5 separate regions of the Homo sapiens genome follow, and regions 1, 2, 3 and 4 are each linked to region 5. The links are contacts of gene promoters, found by promoter capture Hi-C in human tissues and cell types (Jung and others, 2019). All regions are on one chromosome and are shown on one strand. Each heading gives the region's core, a stretch centred on a gene start or on the middle of the fragment in contact. The rest is flanking DNA. Distances are from core to core; before and after follow the strand shown.

Region 1 (2,700 bases), core at 68-2,567, 420 kb before region 5:
GCATGCCACCATACCCAGCTTTTTTTTTTTTTTTTTTTTTTTTTACTTTCTGTATTTTGTAGAGGTGGGGTTTTGCCACGTTGCCCAGGCTGATCTGGAACTCCTGGGCTCAAGCTATCCTCTGGCCTCGGCCTCTCAAAGTGTTGAGATTACAGGCATGCAGGCACAAGCCACCACACTCAGCCAGGAATACCTAATTAAACCATTATTTAATTGGGCCCCAGATCTTAAGGAGCTCCTCTGATTGTCAGAATATGGGATTGTTCTCAGAATTGAAACAGTGCTATCAAGGCTGGGCGCGGTGGCTCATGCCTATAATCCCAGCACTTTGGGAGGCCGAGGCTGGTGGATCACTTGAGGTCAGGAGTTTGAGACCAGCCTGACCAACATGGTGAAACCCCTGTCTCTACCAAAAATACAAAAAATTAGTCGGGTGTGGTGGTGGATGCTTGTAATCCCAGCTACCCAGGAAGCTGAGGCAGGAGATTGCTTGAAGCTTGGGAGGCAGAGGTTGCAGTGAGCTGAGATCGCACCACTGTACTCCAGCCTGGGCAACAGAGCAAGACTCTGTCTTTAAAAAAAAAAAAAAGAAACAGTGCTATCAAAATTGCTGATTGGGAGGCCGGCTGCAGTGGCCCATGCCTGTAATCCTAGCACTTCGAGAGGCTGAAGCAGGTGAATTGCTTGAGCTTAGGAGTTTGAGACCAGCCTGGACAACACAACAAAACCCCATCGCTACAAAAAAAAAAAAAATTAACCAGGCATGGTGGTGTGCACCTGTAGTCCCAGCTACTTTGTGGGGCTGAGGTGGGAGGAATCGCCTGAGCTCAGGAAGTCCAGGCTGCAGTGAACCAAGATTGTGCCACTGCATTCTAGCCTGGGTGACAAAGCGAGACCCTTTCTCAAAAGAAAAAAAATATTGGGGATTGGGTTATTGATTAAATGATTGACATTGGCGTGTGCCATAGAAAATGGATCAATACAATATTTACCTGTTTTTTAAGGATCCTTTGTAGTATAGGTAAACAAACTATTGTTTATAAACTGTCAATAAGTGTAGAAGGTTTCTCGATGCTTTAAGGTTGAGTTTAGCAACAGTATGATACATAGTTGTTAGTTTTTGTTTAGTGATACAAGGCAGTTCCTCATTTTGACAGTTGCCTTTTCTTTTTTCCCTAAATCACTAGCTCTCAAGCTTTTAAATCTCCCAAAATGTCCCAAATCCTGGGCCACACCTTTGCCACACTTCTCAAATGAGAATCTCTGGGAGGGCCCCAGGTACTGCGGTGGCACTGACAGCATTGTACTGGGGGCTGCTGGTTCCCTGTCAGATGTTTTAAGTCAGATTGGCTAGCATAGTCACAGCTGCTGACGGTGTCTTTATTCATGGATGCTCAGTACAGCAGTTGCTAGTTTCAAATAGACAACTTCCAGGAGGCATTAAAAAAAAATTATATGACTAGAAACAGGAGGGAAGGCATGCAGATAGATTTGTCTTCCCATGGGAAGTAGGCCATATAAGTTAAATCTCTCTCTGTATCATATCCTTTTTTACTATCTTCAGAGTCTTTTTCACTACCTGAAATTCTCTTATTTGCTTTGTTTTGTCTCCCTGCACTAAAACAAGCTGTTAGAGCAGGAGCCCCGTTCATGCCCCGTGCTGTATCCCTAGTGTCTTTAGCACAACACCTGAACCAGGAAAGGTGCTCAGAACATACTTCATGCATGAGTGCTAAATAAGCCTCTCTTCTCCTCTCTCCTCACCTGAGGGCAGGAGTTCGAGACTAGCCTTGCCAACGCAGTGAAACCCCATCTCTATTAAAAATACACACACACACACACACACACACACGCGCGTGCGCGCAAAATAGCCAGGTGTAGTGGTGCATGCCTGTAGTCCCAGCTACCTGGGAGGCTGAGGCAGGAGAATCACTTTAACCCAGGAAGTGGAGGTTGCAGTGAGCCGAGATCGTGCCATTAGACTCCAGCCTGGGTGACAAGAGTGAAACTCCCTCTCAGAAAAAAAAGAAAAGAAAAGAAAAAATACATTTGAAGTCAATTCCAGAAATATAGGAATGCCTTATATATTTGTGTGGTTTCTCGATGCTTTAAGGTTGAGTTTAGCAACAGTATGATTCATAGTTGTTGTTTTTGTTTAGTGATACAAGGCAGTTCCTCATTTTGACAGTTGCCTTTTTTCCCTAAATCACTAGCTCTCAAGCTTTTAAATCTCCCAAAATGTCCCAAATCCTGGGCCACACCTCTCCCACACCTCTCAAATTAGAATCTCTGGGAGGGCCCCAGGTGCCGCGGTGGCACTGACAGCAGTGTGCTGGGGGCTGCTGGTTCCCTGTCAGGCTTTAATCAGTTGAAGGGCTCTTCCTCCCCTCTCCCCTCAACTCATGGCCCGTAGCAGTGTCTTTTTACAGAGTTACAGGCAGCTAGGCAACACTCCAACTTGGAGCAGCTTGGAAATTGATATTACACATCAAATTAGTCTCCTCCTGCTGACTGCTAATGGAAAGCTTAGTCCAGCTTAGTCCAGCTTGCAGTGGGATAACCAGAGCTCCTCCCGCAAGTCCACTCTGCGACCTGCTTCTCCAAGTACAGTGAGGGCATGAAGTCATTCATTCTATTTTTTTTTTTTTAAACTGGGACAGAGTCTCACCCCGTCACCCAGGCTGGAGTGCAGTGGCGTGA
Region 2 (2,700 bases), core at 201-2,700, 390 kb before region 5:
ACACCTGTATTCCTAGCACTTTGGGAGACTGAGGCAGGAGGATTGCTTGAGCCCAGGAGTTTGAGACCAGACTGGGCAACACGGTGAGACCCCATCTCGACGAAAATTAGAAAAAAAATTAGCCGGGCGTGGTGACATTCCTGTAGTCCCAGCTACTTGGGAGGCGGCGGTGGGAGGATCGCTTGAGCATGGGAGGTGGAGGCGTAGTGAGCTGTGATTGCACCACTGCACTCCAGTCTGGGTGACAGAGTGAGACCCTATCTGATAAATAAATGAATACACACACATATTTAGACACACATACATATACATAATATATATGTGTGTGTGTATTCAGAAAATAGGCACAACTAACTAAAGGTATCCCTACAAGATAAACTAGAAGGAGAAACAAGAGAAAGGCTAATAAACAGTTCATAATGGTTGGGGTAGGAATGTCATTGGGGAGGCACTTTCTGGTCCCTGAGAGGCGGCAGTGGTGTCTGAACACTTGCAGTGCTCCGCGAGAAGGAAGGAGATGTTGGTTTTATTTTATATGTACTCATGTATACACAAATCTGTGTCTATACATAAAGATGCACATCACAGCGTTGACACTTAACATTAGATGCACTCAGATGTTTTAGTTTTTTTGTGTGTGTTTTTTCTTTTTTTAAAAATTTTTTTCTCTGTTTTTTAAAGCCAGTTGTGACCCACTAAATTGATTTTGTCACTCCCTGTTTGAAAGTGTTTTATTGCTTAAGTTGGGTGGTAAGTATGTAGCTGTTTGTTTTATTCCTTTTTATACAGGACTCATCCATTTATATATGCTTCTGTCAGAAAGCAGAAACCACTCAAAGCACATGGGGAGAGGATGCCTCTGTGCCTCTACAGAGCCTGGGCCGAGGTGGGAGGGCTGCCTGGGGCCCCTTGTCTGAGGAGGGAGCCTGGATTCTGTGGGGAGATAGGTTTGTTTCAGATAGTCCATCGAAGTGGGGTTGAGCTCAGGAGCCCTTTGCAAGCCCCCTGTATGGTGGGGAGCTTGGAGAGAACCTCTTTCAGCTGCTTCCTCTGGTCATTACTAGAGGACAGGGAGAGGTTATCCTGGGACATCCTGGCCTAGCATGCTTCCTTACCAGGGTTGTTGGCCCTGGGCCCCAGCTGTGTCCCTCTTTGCTGGCGTGGGACAGTACCCTTTTGATGGCTGTCTCACCTGGCACAGGGCATAGACCCTGGTGTGGCTGGCAGTATCCTTTTCCCTTCTCACCCCAGCTGCCCAGACCCTCTGAAGGCATTTCTGAGCCCTGACCCTGCCTTCCAACAGGTACCAAGCCAGCTGCCTCCATTGACCCATGGGGGGTGCCCACTGGAGCCACCGTACAATCTGTCCCCAAGAACTCGGACCCCTGGGCAGCTTCACAGCAGCCTGCCTCCAGTGCTGGGAAAAGAGCTTCTGACGCGTGGGGCGCAGTCTCCACCACCAAGCCCGTGTCTGTCTCTGGTGAGCCCCTCACTCACCCACTTTCCTGCCTGGCCTCTGAGCGCCCACGGGCCCTGCAGCCGCTCCTGGCTCCTAGGCATCAGCCCTGTTGCTTTGCTTGCATTTGCTCCCCTCCTCCCCCTTAGCCTTTGTTCCTGATCCCCAGATCCCAGGTGCCCCAGTGTGAGAGTGAGTGAGTGCGAGTTCCCAGGCTTTGTGCGCTGGTACCTCCCTCCAAATTGAGGGGGCTTCCACCTGGGTGTTGAGAGAGAAGACTGCCCTGGGCCCACAGCCTGTGGGTCCTGTCCTCACCCCTGGGGGGCTGGGCAGGCTGGCCTCCAGGCACTCCTTCTGGTGACTTCCTACAGACCCTCATCCAAGCAACCAGACCCAGCTTGATGCACCTCCACCACTGCCAGCACCCCTTTGCCTTTTGGGGTGAGGGTGTTAGAAGCAGTAGCAGGTGGGCATCCCACACCCTGTCCTGGGAGGCCAGGCTCCCTGTCTCCCCTCCCAGCGTGCTGGTGACCCCAGGCTGTCTTGCCTCTTTGGCTCTCAGAATTCTCCTCCATGAGGTAGGGTAAGCGGGGAGAGGCCCCTGTTGCCAGCCCATCCTGAGGGTGTGCACTGGGCAGTGGAGTTGCCATGAAGTCCTGTGAGATGCCCCCAGTCATTGGCTTCTGTGTCCACCCAGGGTCCTTTGAGCTCTTCAGTAATCTGAATGGTACAATTAAAGATGACTTTTCTGAATTTGACAACCTTCGGACTTCAAAAAAAACAGGTATGTACAGGTGATGATGGTTTCCATAATCCTCCGTGCATTTGACCAGCTGAGTTATTGCAGAAATAATAATCAGCTTTCAAAACCCTTCAGCTTCCTGCATTTTCTTTGTATTTTGATCTTGGGAGCCTGAAGTTTCTAATTCTAAGAATTCATACATCAATAGTTAAAAATCACAAGGTAGAGTCCCCCAGGACTATGTCTCCAGGTTAGGATCCCCAAAGCTTCCTGCAGATTCCACAGCCCCGGCCTCCTCAGCTCAGAGTGGGCCTCACCTCTGGCCTGATCCAGCATTTCCATTCACCCTCCTCCTGCCAATTTCCACTCCTCAGAGGGCCTCCTTTTCCCAGACAACCACCTTTGGGCATCAGTGGGGCCAGCCTCTGCCCTGTGTTGTCACCTCCCAGGTGACCGCTCCAGCCCAGCAGACCCACAGTCCAGTCTCCAGACCTGTTTTCCT
Region 3 (2,700 bases), core at 136-2,635, 360 kb before region 5:
AGTCCCCATGGAGACTAAGCCCAGGCTTTGTGCACAGTAGGCACTTATGAAGTGCAAGTGAACAATCAGAATGGTTAATAACCACCAGCCAAGGTAGAAAGTAAGCAATGCCAGCCAGGAAGCCCTTGGGAAAGAGGTTAGACATAGGACGTGGGAATGGTATCCAGACAGATGGATCGGCATGAATAAAGCTCAGATGAAGAAAGTTGAGGGACTAGCACAGGAGGAGAAAGTGCCAGGGTCTAGCCGGAACACAACACGCCATGGGAAGTCAGCAGGCACAGAGTCAGGCCTCCAGGCCAAACAGCCACAGTCCTGCATGCCAGGGTGGGGAGCCTGCCTTTTACAGGCGTGGCCACTAGCCCTGATGCACTCTGAACTTCCAGAAGGCCAGCTGCACAGCCTGTAGCAGATGAAGGGGGTGAGTGGGGATGAGGAAGAAGAGGAGGGAAAGGGACAGATGGCGAGAGAGAACGTTGAGGGCTGCTTCAAGAGCCCAGGTGACAATCTGAATGTGAACAGTCATGGGCTGGATGAGGCAGAGGCTGTCTTGGGGGTGCTGTGTGAAAGCTCTGCCACCCTACCCCACAGGGCCCCTGCAGACTCACAGCCGTAGGGGTTGGTGCTTTTAAAGGTGACATCAATGGGGAAGTTCCACACCAGTGCTTGCCGCACATCTTGGCTCTTGGATGTGATCTGTGAGATCCCCTCCTCCAGACCCTGTGAGGACAGTGACACAGACGGCTGGATTCAGAGCAGAGCCAAGCTGCTGCGGCTCCTCCCCTTACCTTCAGCAGGCAGTTGGGAGGGCTGTTTTCTCAGCTGTCTTCTCCCAAGACACGAACTTCCAAACAAAGGGGACTAAGAGATGATGGAGTACCTCTTTAAGTCTGGTACTTTAACGCCGTAGCTTGACAACCCTGGGAGGCCAGCCACTCTCCCGGGCACAAGGGCACTAGATCTGGTCCCAAGCTCTTGCCCCACTGAAGGAATGGTCCAGCATGCTTACACTCTCCTGCATCCCCACCCTCACCTGAGTATCCCCATCCTCACCTGAGTATCCCCATCGGTAAATACGTAAATGTGTTTTCTCCATCAAAAATAGTCCTCTTTCAACTCTGCGGCTTCTTCCACCCACCAACCCTTTCTCTGCTCCCTTTATAGCAAAACTGCCTCAAAGAGCTGCCACACTCACCGGCTCCAATTCCTCCCCTGCTATTCTTTTGTGACCCCACTCCAATGTGACTGCTGGCTCCAGCACTCTACCAAAGGGTTTTCTCCATTAATGCCCGTGACCAACATTGCTAGATCCAATGGTCATTTCTCTATCCTCGTGTTACTTGACCCATCAGCAGCACCTGATGCAGCTGCTTACTCCTTGATACACTGTCTTCCCTTGGCTTCTGGGTCTCTCCACTGCACAGGGTGGCCCCTGCTCAGTGGCTCTTGCTGGTTCCTTCTCAGTGTTGCCGTCCTAAGGCTGCATCTTTGGCCAGCTCCTCTACCTGTACTTGGTGATCTCATCCATCTCATGGCTTTCAATGTGCTCTAGATGTCGATGATTCCCAAATTTATGTCTCCAGCCTGGTCCTTGCCTCTGCACTCTGGATCAGCACCTCCTCTTGGATATCCAGTGGGTGCCTCAACCTTAACCCACACCAGGCTGAGCTCCAGGTAGCTCTCCCCAATCTGTTCTTCTCACTGAAAGGCAGCTGCCTACTTCTAAGTGCTCAGGCTAAAAGCCCTGCTGTGAATCCTAACTCCTCCTTCTCTCAGACCTCACATCCATCAAAAGAACCCAGCGGCTCTATCTTCAGAATATACTTGCAGTCCAGCCCCTCCCACCACCCCACTGCCACTGCCCTCCTCTCCCATCTCCACTGCTGTCAGAGCCAACTGGGCTGCCTGCTCTTGCCCTTTCCCCCCGAGTCTATCCTTGTCGTAGAAGCCAGGGAATCTTCTAAAAACATAAGTCAGATCACTTTCTCTGCTGAAAGTTCTCCAGTGGGATCCCATCTCCCTTTGAGTAAAGGTCACAGTCCTTACTCTGACAAGACCTGCCCAGGTGCCTCTCTGCTCCAGCCACTCTCCTGCTGGCTCGCTCTCCAGTGGCCACACAGCCTCCTTGCTGGTCCTCAAACATGCCAGGCAAGCTCCTGCTCCAGGGCCTTTGCACTCTCTGCTGTTTCTGCCTGGACAGTTCTCACGGGTTTCCACATGGCTTGTTCCCTCACTTCCTTCAGGTCTTTCCTCAAAAGTTACTTTCTCGGCAAGGCCCTCCCTGGCAGCCTTAGCGAGATCGCAGCCTCCTTCTCATCACTCATCCCTGTCACTTCCTGGCTTGGTCTCCCCTCACACTTCTGGCTTACTAACATCCTAGAATATGCACTCCTTATTATCTGACCCCCCAGCAAGAACGTGCGCTCCGGGAAGGCAGGGTCTTCTGGTTTGGCTTTGCTCACCCCTGCATCCCCAGCACCCAGAAGACAATCAATAAAGGGAAAAGAAGGATTATCATCTCAGTTGTACAAATGAGGAAACTGAGGCTCAGAGAGCTTAAATAAGTTCAGTCTCCTTTTCTTAAACTGCTATGAAGATGAAACAAGTGCTTTGCAAACAGCAGAGCACAGAGCGGGCTGAAGTTGTCACCACAGTCCCTCACCTGGTGGAGGCAAGCTACCCCTTGGGAAGTCCTGGAAG
Region 4 (2,700 bases), core at 159-2,658, 280 kb before region 5:
AAGGCTCTTCAGGCTAGGCACGGTGGCTCATGCCTGTAATCCCAGCACTTTGGGAGGCCGAGGTGGGCGGATCATTTGAGACCAGGAGTTTGAGACCACTCTGGTCAACATGGTGAAACCCCGTCTCTACAAAATATAAAAATGAGCCAACTGTGGTGGCCTGTGCCCATAGTCCCAGCTATTTAGATGGCTGAGACATGAGAACCACTTGAACCCAGGAGGAGGAGGTTGCAGTGAGCCGAGATCATGCCATTGCACTCCAGCCTGGGCCACAGAGCAAGATTCTGTCTCAAAAACAAAACAAAACAAAAAAGCCTTTTCAGGTTCTAAGGATTAAGTCAGAGATTCTGGAATATTGTCATGTAATGCTCCATCAGAGGTTTTTGCCTGCCCTGTAAAAGCTGGTGTTAAGTAAAGTAAAATTATGGGAGATCATTGTTTTGGATGAAGCTCCTGCACTAGACCCCAGAGGACCAGACTAAAAATCAAAATAGAGTCACCTATGCTAAAGTTCCAGGTTACAAAACCAAAACTAAGTTGTTATCTGACAGGAGAGAGATTTCCCAAACAGGCCAGTTTCCATTTTTAAGCAGCATGATAATGAATTCTCTCTGCTTTAATCCTCACACAAAAGCAGCAGCCTGAAGCAACCTGAGAATAACCTAGTCAGTTATTCTCTATTGTTCTGTCTTCCTGTGCCCACCTTACCAGAAAAGTAGCTTTGAAACCAGGGATATGCTCTTTGTTCTTTGCTTCTGCTTTCTTCATCCCTTCTGTCTGTAAAGCCAACCCCTTCTGCTCAGCTCGTGGGAACACTTATTCTGTTTTCTGGAATGGAGTGTTGCCCAATTCTAGGCTCATAATAAAGTAAATTGAGATCTTTAAATTTGTTGTAGTTTTGTCGTTTGACCTTGGAGTCCACTGTGGAAAATATCCTACCCATCTCTAAAATTGTCTTTAAGTTATTTTTCCTGTTGTAGACCATTTCATGTGAAAAATTAGCTAACTCCTAGATTATAACACTTTTGTGTTCTTCAGTGACAAATGTCCTAAATATTTTACCTCAGTTTGGCAATATTACAATTTGTCTAGTAAGGCCTTAAGCCTCTCTGAAGTGAGGAATTCTAACAAAGCCAAAAGTATCAGTTTGGCATTGCTCTTTAGTTTCTTAGGCTATCAGCAAATCATCTACATATTGGATTGTAAACCAAAAATAAAATTCTAAGCCCCTTAACCAACTGAATGGACCCCTCTTCTTGGCCAAGGGGATTCCAAAATAAACTGAAACACTACTTCTGGCCATGATGGGAATGGGTGGTTTGATATGCCTCATTATACCTTCCTCCCTTGGAACTCAGGCACAACTGACCACCATTAATATTAAAACAAGAGACCTTAACACTGATGAAATAGACTCATTTTTTCTTTTTTTGAGACAGAGTCTCACTCTGTCCCCGAGGCTGGAGTGCAGTGGCACAATCTTGGCTCACTGCAACCTCCATCTGCCTCCCAGGTTCAAGTGATTCTCCCACCTCAGCCTCCTGAGTAGCTGGGATTACAGGTGCATGCCACCATGCTTGACTAATTTTTGGATTTAAATAGACCCTTTGCAGCAATAAGATACCAACATGACAGATAGCAGGCCCCAAAAGAAATAGAAATATTTTACCCCAAAATATATTTCTTTGACATATTTTGAAATGGCCCTGCACAGCTTTATCTTGTGGAGAAAATCTACATTCAGTAGAGAATCCCCTTCCCTTTCCAGGTATTTTTCCTGATGCAGGAGAGAATTAACTAAGAGTCTGGCACCTTTCTAAGTCTGATAAAAAAACATGTACAATCTATTCTCTCTGAAGTCTGCTACCTGAAGGCATCATCTGCATAATAAGAACCTTGATTTCCCAAACCCCTTATCTTAACCCAGATATTCTCTTCTATGGATTCCAGGTCTTTAGATAATAACTCTTTCAACCAGTTGCCAATTAGAAAATCTCTGAATTCACCTATGACCTGGAAGCCCCCTCTTTGAGTTGTCTCACCTTTCGGCACCAAACCAATGTATATCTTACATGTATTATTATTATTTTGAGACAGAGTCTTGCTCTGTCACCCAGGCTGGAGTGCAGTGGCGTGATCTCGGCTTACCATAACCTCTGCTTCCTGGGTTCAAGCAATTCTCCTGCCTCAGCCTCCTTAATAGCTGGGATTACAGGTGCACGCCACCACACCTGGATAATTTTTGTATTTTTAGTAGAGATGAGGTTTCACCATGTTGTTCAAGCTGGTCTTGAACTCCTGACCTTTTGATCCACCCGCCTCGGCCTCCCAAAATGCTGGGATTACAGGTGTGAGCCACCATGCCCAGCCATCTTACATGTATTGATTGTTGTCTTGTCTCCCTAGAATGTATGAAACCAAGTTATGGCCCAATCACCTTGGGTGCATGTTCTTAGGATCTCCTAGGGCTATGTCACATGTCATTGGTCCTCATGTTTGGCTCAGAATAAATCTCTTCAAATATTTTACAGAGTTTGACTCTTTTCGTTGACAGGATAATTATAAATTTCTCTGGTGGGACAAATTTCCCTAATATTTCCTGTAAATTGCTAGAGAAAAGAGTAGGAGAGTCCTGAAATCCTTGAGAAATTCTTTACTAAGTTAAGTATTGAACTCCTTTGTAGGTAAAAGCAAACAAGG
Region 5 (2,700 bases), core at 85-2,584:
CACAGGTGCCCACACAGCCGAGCCCTGCAAGACAGGCCTCTCCAGCTTTGAGGGCCCCGCACCAGTGCCCCGAGAGGTCACCTACGCCTGGGGAAGCCAGGGCTGGAGGTCGGATGACCTAGCCCAGCTCCCATTCTGCGTTCTGCAGCTGCAGTCACGCCTGGCCTCCACGTCCCTACCCAGAAGGGTCAGTGCCTGGCGCAGCGCAGTGCCTGGCGCCCTGAGCTTGACCCAAGTGTCTGATACTGCTATTGCAGTTCCTATTATAACAATAATTTGGTCAGGCCGCACACCCCCAAAAAAGGAGGGGAATTAAATACACCAAAATCTTAGTAATGGCTATTTCCAAGTACTAGGATTTGAGTTAAATTTCTTTCTTCTTTATATCTTTCATTTTTTTCTAAAAGTTTTACAGGAAGTGCAATTCCATTACTCCTTTTTGGTTTTGTTTTTTTTGTTTTTTTTTTTTTTTTTGAGACGGAGTTTCGCCCTTGTTGCCCAGGCTGGAGTGCAGTGGCGCGATCTCGGCTCACTGCAACCTACCCGTCCCGGGTTCAAGCGATTCTCTGCCTCTCTCTCCCAAGTAGCTGGAATTACAGGCGCCCGCCACCATGCCTGGTTAATTTTTGTATTTTTAGTAGAGTCGGGGGGTTCTCCATGTTGGCCGGGCTGGTCTCCAACTCCTGACCTCAGGTGATCCTCCCTGCTCGGCCTCCCAAAGTGCTGAGATAACAGGCGTGAGGCAGCACGCCCAGCCTATTCCTCTTCATGATCAGAAAAAATAAATGTATTTAAAACAATTTCCCCTTTGGAAATGAAATGGGTAGCCGGCCCCTTCTTCCCCCTGCGAAGGTGCTGCAGGCTTCATGCATCTCTGGGTCCCATTTGTCCTGGAGCCATCTTCCAACTCAGGCTTTTGTGGGTTTCCAGCTGAGGCACACCCACCCCTTCTGTGTGGGGGCTGCCTGCTGCTGAGCAAAGTCAGGCCCCACTGCCACTGGGGATTGTCCAGAGACAGCTTTCAGGAGCCATCCTGCTGTCCCCAGACTCTGGACCTGGCAGTCAACATGGGCAGTTTCTGGGGAAAATGTGAGCACATTTCTGGATCCTGCCTGCAAGGCAGACACCCTCAGCCTCTCAGCTTCCTCCACTCCCTACCTGCCCCCCAGCTCCTCCTCCTTACCAGGGGTCCAGAAAGGGCAAAGAGAGTCCACATCTCAGTCCCAAAGCCTCTGGGAACCAGCCTGCTGAGGGCAGGGCAGCAGCCCCCATGGTCCAGGGCCACTGTGTCCTGGAGGCTGTCCATTCCTGGCCGGGGCACTGGCTACCCTGCACGCCTGAGCGCCTGCACGGCCAGCTTTGTCCAGCGAGCCACCCCCTGCCTGGGCAGCCCGTGTCGGTACAGCCTGGCTGATGAGTAAGGGGCAGGAGGAGGGGCTACCATGGCAACTTGTGGGATGAGCCCTGCCTCCTAGGGCACTGAGTCCCTGCTGCCAAGCCTACTGCCTCAGCCACTAGGGAGGACAGGTTCCTGGGAGTCACCCAGACCGCTGCCTGTTGTGTCTGGTCTCCCAGAGGGATTGGCAGTAAGGCCTCAGCAGGAGAAGGTCCAGGGCTGCCTGCAGTGGCTGTGGGAGGTGTGCTGAGGCCAGGACAGGGCAGCCTGGCTGGGGCAGCTGAGCCACTGGGCGTCCTGTACCCGGGCGTGATGGTGCCCACAGTGACTCCCGTTTTTCAGAAGAATTGGTGGCCTGCCCGAAGTCACAGAGCAGGTGGTGGCAGAGCCTGAACAGCCCTCAGCCCTGCTTTTCCCTGGGAGGGGTGGCTTCCCAAGAGACAGGGGCCTGGCAAACCCCATGGCAGTGCGGTCCCTAGCCTTTCATGCTGGAGGGGCCTGGGCCTGGGCCTGGGGATAGGGATGGGAGCTAGGACACCTCGGCGGAGTCCCAAGCCCCCCACTGCCCGTCACCCCTTTCAGCAGCATATCTGAGAGCCAGGGGTGGCAGTGCTTGGGAAAGCAGCTCACTATGCACGCCAGTCACTGTGCCCAGCAAGGCTGTGACTCGACGTCCCACAGGGTCCTCTGTCACCTTCCCAAATTGCCCTCTCTGCTTTTCCTTGCAGGGATGGCCTGTGACTCCCCCCTCAACCTGCCTCAAGACCAGCAGGGCAGTGGGAACCAAGAGAGGCATCTAAGGATTGCACCGGTCACCTAGCCCAGTCCTGGATCAAGCTTTTGGGTGTGGTTCAGCCCAGGAGAAGGAGGAGTGAGCGAGGGGGGCAGGAAGACAGCAGGCAGGCTGGCCAGTGGCTGTGGGAGGGCTGAAGACATCCCAAAGGCCCCACTTGGTTCCCATGTCCACCCCTGCAGCGGAGGAGTGGCCGGCAGGATTCCGAGATGCAGCCCCCAGAGCCGCGAGGAGGAAGGAGCAGACCCTGAAGGAGAGGAGGCAGGACAAATACAAAAAAAAAAAAAGGGTTTGCTACACCCATGGGCGGCCCCAAACACAGGCACAGCCCCACCCCAGTCAACACGCAGCCTTCTTTTTTGACACAGAATTCTGAAACGCTCCACTGGATCCTCCCAGGATCACCTGGGAGGTCACATTCCTGCCCTTGTTCTGATGGTTCTTATCACAGCACTCTCCAACCTGTGCACCAAATAGTACCTTTACCACCTGCCTAGAGGAAAGAAGACAT

The links. The method cuts DNA at HindIII sites, captures the fragments that hold promoters and counts their contacts. A contact is called where the count stands out against the background at its distance.
Region 1: a contact is called between a fragment that was not itself captured here and the fragment with the promoter of SLC47A2 in region 5, in 1 of the 25 tissues and cell types used here (dorsolateral prefrontal cortex).
Region 2: a fragment that was not itself captured here is called in contact with the fragment with the promoter of SLC47A2 in region 5 in 2 of the 25 tissues and cell types used here (dorsolateral prefrontal cortex and mesendoderm cells).
Region 3: a fragment that was not itself captured here is called in contact with the fragment with the promoter of SLC47A2 in region 5 in 1 of the 25 tissues and cell types used here (mesendoderm cells).
Region 4: a fragment that was not itself captured here is called in contact with the fragment with the promoter of SLC47A2 in region 5 in 2 of the 25 tissues and cell types used here (dorsolateral prefrontal cortex and spleen).

Annotation. Positions count from the first base shown.
Region 1 is chr17:19,293,516-19,296,215 of GRCh38, forward strand. The region is part of intron 4 of EPN2 (epsin 2); the gene reads left to right. Among named protein-coding and RNA genes, the nearest start is that of EPN2-AS1, 11 kb to the right of the region's middle. The HindIII fragment of the contact is 3,874 bases long and covers 1-2,700 here.
Region 2 is chr17:19,327,408-19,330,107 of GRCh38, forward strand. EPN2 (epsin 2) reads left to right here. Exons shown (of 11, transcript NM_014964.5): 8 at 1,304-1,480; 9 at 2,154-2,240. Among named protein-coding and RNA genes, the nearest start is that of MIR1180, 16 kb to the right of the region's middle. RefSeq lists a silencer at 2,597-2,700. The HindIII fragment of the contact is 3,792 bases long and covers 1-2,700 here.
Region 3 is chr17:19,357,232-19,359,931 of GRCh38, forward strand. B9D1 (B9 domain containing 1) reads right to left here. Exons shown (of 7, transcript NM_015681.6): 3 at 609-720. Among named protein-coding and RNA genes, the nearest start is that of B9D1, 4.1 kb to the right of the region's middle. RefSeq lists an enhancer at 471-970. The HindIII fragment of the contact is 5,514 bases long and covers 1-2,700 here.
Region 4 is chr17:19,436,132-19,438,831 of GRCh38, forward strand. No RefSeq gene overlaps it. Among named protein-coding and RNA genes, the nearest start is that of LINC02094, 19 kb to the left of the region's middle. The HindIII fragment of the contact is 8,888 bases long and covers 1-2,700 here.
Region 5 is chr17:19,715,250-19,717,949 of GRCh38, forward strand. It overlaps SLC47A2 (solute carrier family 47 member 2), which reads right to left and starts at 1,335. Exons shown (of 17, transcript NM_001099646.3): 1 at 1,184-1,335. The coding sequence starts at 1,306. LOC124903948 (a long non-coding RNA gene) reads left to right here. Exons shown (of 2, transcript XR_007065659.1): 2 at 2,125-2,700. RefSeq lists enhancers at 813-1,662, 1,663-2,510. The HindIII fragment of the contact is 9,747 bases long and covers 1-2,700 here.